Regions from separate parts of the Homo sapiens genome. Here region 2 is linked to region 1. The links are contacts of gene promoters, found by promoter capture Hi-C in human tissues and cell types (Jung and others, 2019). All regions are on one chromosome and are shown on one strand. Each heading gives the region's core, a stretch centred on a gene start or on the middle of the fragment in contact. The rest is flanking DNA. Distances are from core to core; before and after follow the strand shown. Region 1 holds the start of CACNG6 (calcium voltage-gated channel auxiliary subunit gamma 6). Region 2 overlaps MYADM-AS1 (MYADM antisense RNA 1).

Region 1 (3,559 bases), core at 332-2,831:
GCTGCTCACCTCCGGGCAGCTCCGCGGGGCCGCAGGTGTCCCTGTCCACGGGCACGTCCGCCTGCCACAGCCGCTTGGTGCACGCCTTCCACAGCCCCAGGTGGGCCGCTTCGCACACGGCGCTGCCGTTGGCCTTGTAGGTGTTGAGCTCCACCCAGAACTCGGTGCCCACGGACAGCACCGCCAGCGTGGCGCCCACGGCGGCCAGCAGCAGCGCCAGCTTCACCTTCCCCTCGCGCTCGGGCGTCAGCCCCGACCTGCCCTGCCCGTGCGCCCGCCGCCGGCCCGCGGCCCCCCGCCGCCGGTTCTCCTCTTGCAGGAAGAAGTTGGACCACATCATCTTATGGCCGGTGGGGTCGGGAAGGGGGAGGAGGCAGAGCCGGCGAAGGGCCTCGAGGGGCGGGAGCGAGGAGCGGCCTGGGGTCTTGAAGGGGGTGAGGGACTCAGTTTCCCCTGGGTATGAAAGAGGGAGAGCCGAGTCCTGTCTGGAATCTCAAATGCGAAAGTCGAGATTGCTTCTGGGGTTCAGAAGAGAAAAATGATCCCCAGGGCTGGGGAAGCCTCTGGGGTTCAGAGGAGGGTCTAGGTTGCCCTCAAGAACTTGGCAAAGAAGACGGGGCCCAGAGGAAAAACAAGGCCCCCACCCTGAGGTTTAGAGATAGAATTCGGCTTCCCAGGAGGGAGTCCCCCCAAGAGCTCCAGAGGAATGAGAACTGGTGCCCGCTGAAGCTCCCTGCAGCTCCAAGGGGCTGCTTTGGGGTCCCCGCTGGGGGGTTAACAAAAGGGAAACTGGTTTTCCTGAGAGATCTGAGCACCCCACTAGGGCTAAGAGTTTGGGGTACCCAGGAAGGGACCTGAGGTCCTGTGTGTGTTTGGAGGAGATGTGGCCGGGGTTCCCTTGGGCTCAGAGTTTGAGAACAGAGGACTTGGGGACCCTCTGGGATTCGGAAAAGGAAGACCTGGGGTCCCGGGAAGCTCCCAAGGGGAGGTCGGAATTCAATCCGGGTCTCAAGAGAGGCAGTAGGACCCCGGCATCCACAGAAGGAGAAGAACAGAGCCCTGGCTGGGGCTCAGAAGAGGACTGGGCCTCGCTGGAATTCAGGAAAAGGGGATAGGGGTCTCCCCTGCCATTCAGAAAAGATCCGAGGTCTCTACTGAGCCTGGAAAAGGGGCCGGTGGCCGGAAGACAGAGTGGAGTCCAGAGGCGGGAGGCTACGGGGCCTCCCCGAGGGCTGGGGCAGATGGGACCGGGGGCCCTCCTGGGGCTCACACTATGGGGCTGTGGTCCGCACTGCGGCTCGGAAAACCAGGACTGAGTCCCCCCAGGGTTCAAAGGCCAACCGCGACCCGCAAGAGACGCTGCGCCCCTTCGGGATCAGTCCGTCTCCCTCCCCCGGGCTCCCAGGGCCTTCCCGGTCGGGTTCGCGCCAGGCTCAGCCCCAGGCCAGGGCCCCCCCTCGGGGCTCCCACCCCCGACTCCCGAGCAGGGGCCCCTCTCGCTCTCCTGCCTCGGCCCCGCGCCGACCCCAGCTCCGCGCTGCCTCCGAAGCGTCCGGCTGTGCCCGCCACCGCCACCGGCCTGGCCTCCGCCCGCGCCCGGCCTCGTCCCCACCCGCCCACCCCCCACCCTCCACCCTCCACCCTCGGGGCTATTTCGGGCTTGACCCGTAAATAACACCCGCACCTGTCGCCCGGCGCCTGTTGCCATAGGGATCCCGGGTGTTTTAAGGGGACGAGGAAGGGGGGAGGGAGGCCGCCCGGGGAGGAAGGGGCCGAGCCTGATGGGACTTTCATTTCACTAAGGGGCAAGAGCGGCGCCGAGAGTCCCAGCTCCGCAGTCTCCCGGGCAGCAGGAGACGGGCGGGGCAGCAAGTCTGACTGGGGTTACCAGGGAGGAGGGGCGGGAGGCAGGGCCCCGGGTCTCAGGGAGGAGGGCCTGAGGCCAGGAGTCTTGGGTCCCTAAGGGAGAAGAAGCCTCGGTACCCCACTTCTGAGTGGTAGAGGAAGAAGGCCTGGGTACCCAGAATCTTGGATCTGAGAGGAGAGGAACCTGGTCTCCTAGGTCCTGGGCTCCTGAGTCTGAGGGAGGAGGGGCTGGGGGCCTGAACTCCTGGGTCTGAGGGAGGAGGGGCTGGGGTCTGGACTCCTGGGTCTGAGGGAGGAGGGGCTGGGCCTGGGCTCCTGAGTCTGAGGGAGGAGGGACTGGGGCCTGGACTTCTGGGTCTGAGGGAGGAGGGACTGGGGCCTGAACTCCTGGGTCTGAAGGAGGAGGGGCTGGGGGCCTGGACTCCTGGGTCTGAGGGAGGAGGGGCTGGGGGCCTGGACTCCTGGGTCTGAGGGAGGAGGGGTTGGGGGCCTGGGCTCCTGGGTCTGAGGGAGGAGGGGCTGGGGGTCTGGACTCCTGGGTCTGAGGGAGGAGGGGCTGGGGCCTGGACTCCTGGGTCTGAGGGAGGAGGGGCTGGGGGCCTGGGCTCCTGAGTCTGAGGGAGGAGGGGCTGGGGGCCTGGACTTCTGGGTCTGAGGGAGGAGGGACTGGGGCCTGAACTCCTGGGTCTGAAGGAGGAGGGGCTGGGGGCCTGGACTCCTGGGTCTGAGGGAGGAGGGGCTGGGGGCCTGGGCTCCTGGGTCTGAGGGAGGAGGGGCTGGGGGCCTGGGCTCCTGGGTCTGAGGGAGGAGGGGCTGGGGGCCTGGGCTCCTGGGTCTGAGGGAGGAAGGCCTGGGCCTGGACTCCTGGGTCTGAGGGAGGAGGGGGCAGGGGGCCTGGACTCCTGGATCTGAGGGAGGAGGGGCTGGGCCTGGACTCCTGGGTCTGAGGGAGGAGGAGGGCCGGGGAGCCTGGACTCCTGGTCAAGGCGTTGGCAGACCCAGAGTCCTGGGCCTCAGGGAGGAGACTGGGGCCAGAACCCTGGGTCTTGAAGGATGGAAGGCCTGATTTCCATGTTGGAGAAAGCGCAGGCCTCAGGGCAGGGCCGGCTGTCAGGGGCACAGAATGAAAGCAGCACTCCTCTTCATCGAGTTTATTAGACGGGGCACCCCTGGGGGACCTTCCATGCAGTTTCAGCTCCCCCAGGAGCAGGGACAGAGGACAGCCGTGTGGCATGGCGGCAGGGCCTGATCTTCAACCCCTCACCCCCTACCCCTCAGCCCTTCTGTGGACGGCCCAGGTGGGACCCACCTTTCACCAACTCCTTCTTCTCCCACAGTTGGCTGCTCCAGGCAGGCCTGGCGCTGACCTGAGCGAGGCTCTGGTGCACGCTGGGCCTCTCTGCCCACCCCCTGCTCTGGACTTTTCCGATGGAGCACGTGTTTCCCCGCAGTGTGATTGTCTGTGTCTGGTTCTTCCAGCAGACTGGGGCCGGGGCCAGGCACAGGAGGAATTCACCTTGGCATCCTCAGCTCTACCCGGCACAGGGCCAGGTCACAGGCAGTCTTGGAAAATGTGCATGGGGTGACTTGAATGAATGGATGGATGAATGGGCAAAGGAATGACCAGATGGAGTGAGATGATGGCACACAGACATCCCCGCCCCAGCTAGGGGAGGGGCCTGCTGCGTTTCCT
Region 2 (3,559 bases), core at 429-2,928, 130 kb after region 1:
CAGGCTGGGAGACAGAGCGAGACTCCATCTCAAAAAAAAACAAAAAAACAAACAAAAAACCCTCATCAACTCATCAGTGCATGCTCCTTCAAAGTCAGTGATGAGAGACTCTAGGGTGTGTCAGCTAGCAAGAAATCTTCTACAACATATAAGCACCACCTTTGCCATGCCGTATTGGTTAGAAGAAAGTAACACGTTCCTCCCACACTCAAGGGATGGGGATGATACAAGTGTAGAAGATTTCTTTTTAGGAGGAAGAAAATTTTCTGGACACACAAAGTAGTGATTGGCCAGGTGCAGTGGTTCACGCCTGTTATCCCAGTACTTTGCGAGGTTGAGGCAGGCGGATCACTTGAGGCCAGGAGTTCAAGACCAGCCTGGCCAACATGGTGAAACCCTGTCTCTACTAAAAATACAAAAATTAGCCAGGTATGGTGGTGCATGCCTGTAATCCCAGCTACTCAGGAGGATGAGGCAGAAGAATTACTTGAACCTGGGAGTCAGAGTTTGCAGTGACCTGAGATCACACCACTGCATTCCAGCCTGGGCGACAGAGTGACTGAGACTCTCTCTCAAAAAACAAACAAACAAACAAAAAATAATAACCACCTAGCAGCAAAGCCTGTGAATGCATTTCTGCTTCCTTTTTTTTTTTTTTTTTGAAACAGGGTCTCGCTCTGCCGCCCAGGCTGGAGTAGTGCAGTGGCGTGATCTCGGCTCACTGCAGCCTCGACGTCCAGAGCTCAAGCAATCCTCCTGCCTCAGCCTCCAGAGTAGCTGGGACTACAGGTGCTCGCCACCATGCCAGGCTAATTTTTTTTTTTTTTTTTTTTTTGGTAGAGACTGGTTCTCACTCAGTTACGAAGACGGGTCTTGAACTCCTGAGTTCAAGCGATCCACCTGCCTCAGTCTCCCAAAGAAGTAGTAGCAACATTTTTAAAAAGTTTAAAAAAAAAATAAGAAAAAAGTCAGGAGAGTTGGGGTTGCAATGAATAGGCAGAGTAAGAGATATTTTAGGAGAATGAAACTGTATTATGACACCATAGTGGTAAATACTGATTATTATACATTTGTATGAACCTATAGATTCTATGACACCAAGTGAACCCCAGTGTAAACCGTGGACCCTGGGTGAAGATGACATGTCAAATCAGCGGAGGTTCATCCACTGTAACAAATCTACCACTAGCTGGGGATGGTGGTAGTTGGGGAGGCTGTGCATGTGTGGGGACAGGGAAATCTCTGTACCTTCTGCTCAATTTTTATGTGAACCTAAAAATGCTTTTAAAAATAAACTCTATTGGCTGGGCGCGGTGGCTCATGCCTGTAATCCCAGCACTTTGGGAGGCTGAGGCGGGCAGATCTCTTGAGGTCAGGAGTTCGAGACCAGCCTGGCCAACATAATGAAACCCCATCTCTAATAAAAATACAAAAATTAACCAGATGTGGAGGCTCATGCCTGTAGTCCCAGCTACTCAGGAGGCTGAGGTGGGAGAATCACTTGAACCCAGGAGGCAGAGATTGCAGTGAGCAGAGATCACGCCACTGCACTCCAGCCTAGGCGACAGAGCGAGACTCTGTCTCAATAATAATAATAATAATAATAATAATAATAATAATAGACCGGGCGGGGGCCTTACGCCTGTAATCCCAGCACATTGAGAGGCCGAGGCGGGCGGATCACCTGAGGTCGGGAGTGTGAGACCAGCCTGACCAACATGGAGAAACCGCGGCTCTACTAAAAATACAAAATTACCTGGGCGTGGTGATGCCTGCCTGTAATCCCAGCTACTCAGGAGGCTAAGGCAGGAGAATCGCTTGAACCCGGGAGGCAGAGGTTGCAGTGAGCCAAGATCGCGCCATTGCACTCCAGCCTGGGCAACCAGAGCGAAACTCCGTCTCAATAAATAATAATAATAATAATAAAATTTAAAATTCGGTTTCTCAGTCTCACTAGCCAGGTTTCAAGTGCTCTTTGTGGCTATGGCACGGTAGCACAGCCTTCATTTCGTGTGGACTCCTTAGGCTCAGAATAGAGCTCTGGGTTTTGGAGTGTGTCAGCCTGTATTAGCATTCAGACTCCAGCGGTAGAGTAAAAAAAAATACATTGTGACCAACTGGGGTTTATTCCAGAAATGCCAAAATGGCTTTTTTTTCTTTTTCTTTTTCTTTTTCTTTTTTTTTTTGAGACAGAGTCTCTCTGGGTCTCCTAGGCTGGAGTGCAGAGGCGTGATCACAGTGGCGTGATCACAGCTCACTACAGCCTCAACCTCCCGGCCTCAAGCGATCCTCCCTCCACAGCCTTCTGAGTAGCTGGGAATACAGGTGTGTACCACTATGCCCAGCATGGTGTTTTTAGTAAAGACAGGGTTTTGCCATGTTGCCCAGGCTGGTCTTGAACTCCCGGGCTCAAGCAATTTTCCTGCCTCAGTTTCCCAAAACCACCCGTAAGCCACTGTGCCCAGCCCAGAATGGCTAATATTCAAAAACCATTAATGAGCTTTATCATATTAACAAAGTAAAAAAAAAATCAGTATGATCATCTTATATATGCTAAAAGAATATTTGACAAAATTTAGTATCTATGTTTTTTGGTTTTGGGTTTTTTTTTTTTTTTTGAGATGGAGTCTTGCTCTGTCACCCAGGCTGGAGTATAGTGGTGTGATCTCAGCTCACTGCAACCTATGCCTCCCGAGTTCAAACGATTCTCCTGTCTCAGCCTCCTGAGTAGCTGGGATTACAGGCTCTGGCCACCATGCCCAGCTAATTTTTTTGTATTTTTAGTAGAGACAGGGTTTGGCCAGGCTGGTCTCAAACTCCTGACCTCGTGATCCGCCTGCCTCGGCCTCCCAAAGTGCTGGGATTACAGGCATGAGCCACCTCGGCTGGCTCTATGAATTTTTTTTTTAGAAAAACACTGACTAGCTGGGTGTGGTCATGTACAACTGTGGTCCCAGCTACTTGGGAGGCTGAGATAGGAGGATCTCTTTAGCCCGTGGGTTCAATTCTGCAGTGAGCTATGATCGCACCACTGCACTGAAGCCTGGGCAACAGGGTGAGACTCTGTCTCAAAAAAAGAAAGAAAGAAAATTAAAGTACAGTGGCAAGGGCAAAGGTGTCACTAGTCAATGTCAGGAGGGCAGTGCCCAGTGGTGGTGGTGGTAATGGTGGCTTCCCCACCGGGGTGTGGCTGCATCTGATATTAGGAACATTCTTGCTGCTGTCTATTCTTGGCCTCCTGCCACATTCCTGAGCCGGATTCCGTAGCCTTTCCATGTATCCTTTGCTTTTTTTTTAGACAGAGTCTTGCTCTGTCACCCAGGCTGGAGTGTAGTGGCACGATCTCAGTTTACTGCAACCTCTGCCTCCTGGGTTCAAGAAATTCTCCTTCCTCAGCCTCCCGAGTAGCTGGGATTACAGGCATGCACCACCATGCCCGGCTAATTTTTTTTTTGTATTTTTAGTAGAGATGGGGTTTTACCATGTTGGCCAGGCTGGTCTCAAACTCCTGACCTGAGATGATCCACCTGTCTCAGCCTCGCAAGAGTGCTGGGATTAT

What was found. Contacts are between HindIII fragments. The study calls those that stand out against the background at their distance.
Region 2: a contact is called between a fragment that was not itself captured here and the fragment with the promoter of CACNG6 in region 1, in 1 of the 25 tissues and cell types used here (liver).

The regions. Positions count from the first base shown.
Region 1 is chr19:53,989,659-53,993,217 of GRCh38, reverse strand. It overlaps CACNG6 (calcium voltage-gated channel auxiliary subunit gamma 6), which reads right to left and starts at 1,581. Exons shown (of 4, transcript NM_145814.2): 1 at 10-1,581. The coding sequence starts at 340. CACNG8 (calcium voltage-gated channel auxiliary subunit gamma 8) reads right to left here. Exons shown (of 4, transcript NM_031895.6): 4 at 3,003-3,559. The HindIII fragment of the contact is 43,229 bases long and covers 1-3,559 here.
Region 2 is chr19:53,858,711-53,862,269 of GRCh38, reverse strand. All of the region lies in intron 1 of MYADM-AS1 (MYADM antisense RNA 1), which reads left to right. Among named protein-coding and RNA genes, the nearest start is that of MYADM, 7.4 kb to the left of the region's middle. The HindIII fragment of the contact is 7,269 bases long and covers 1-3,559 here.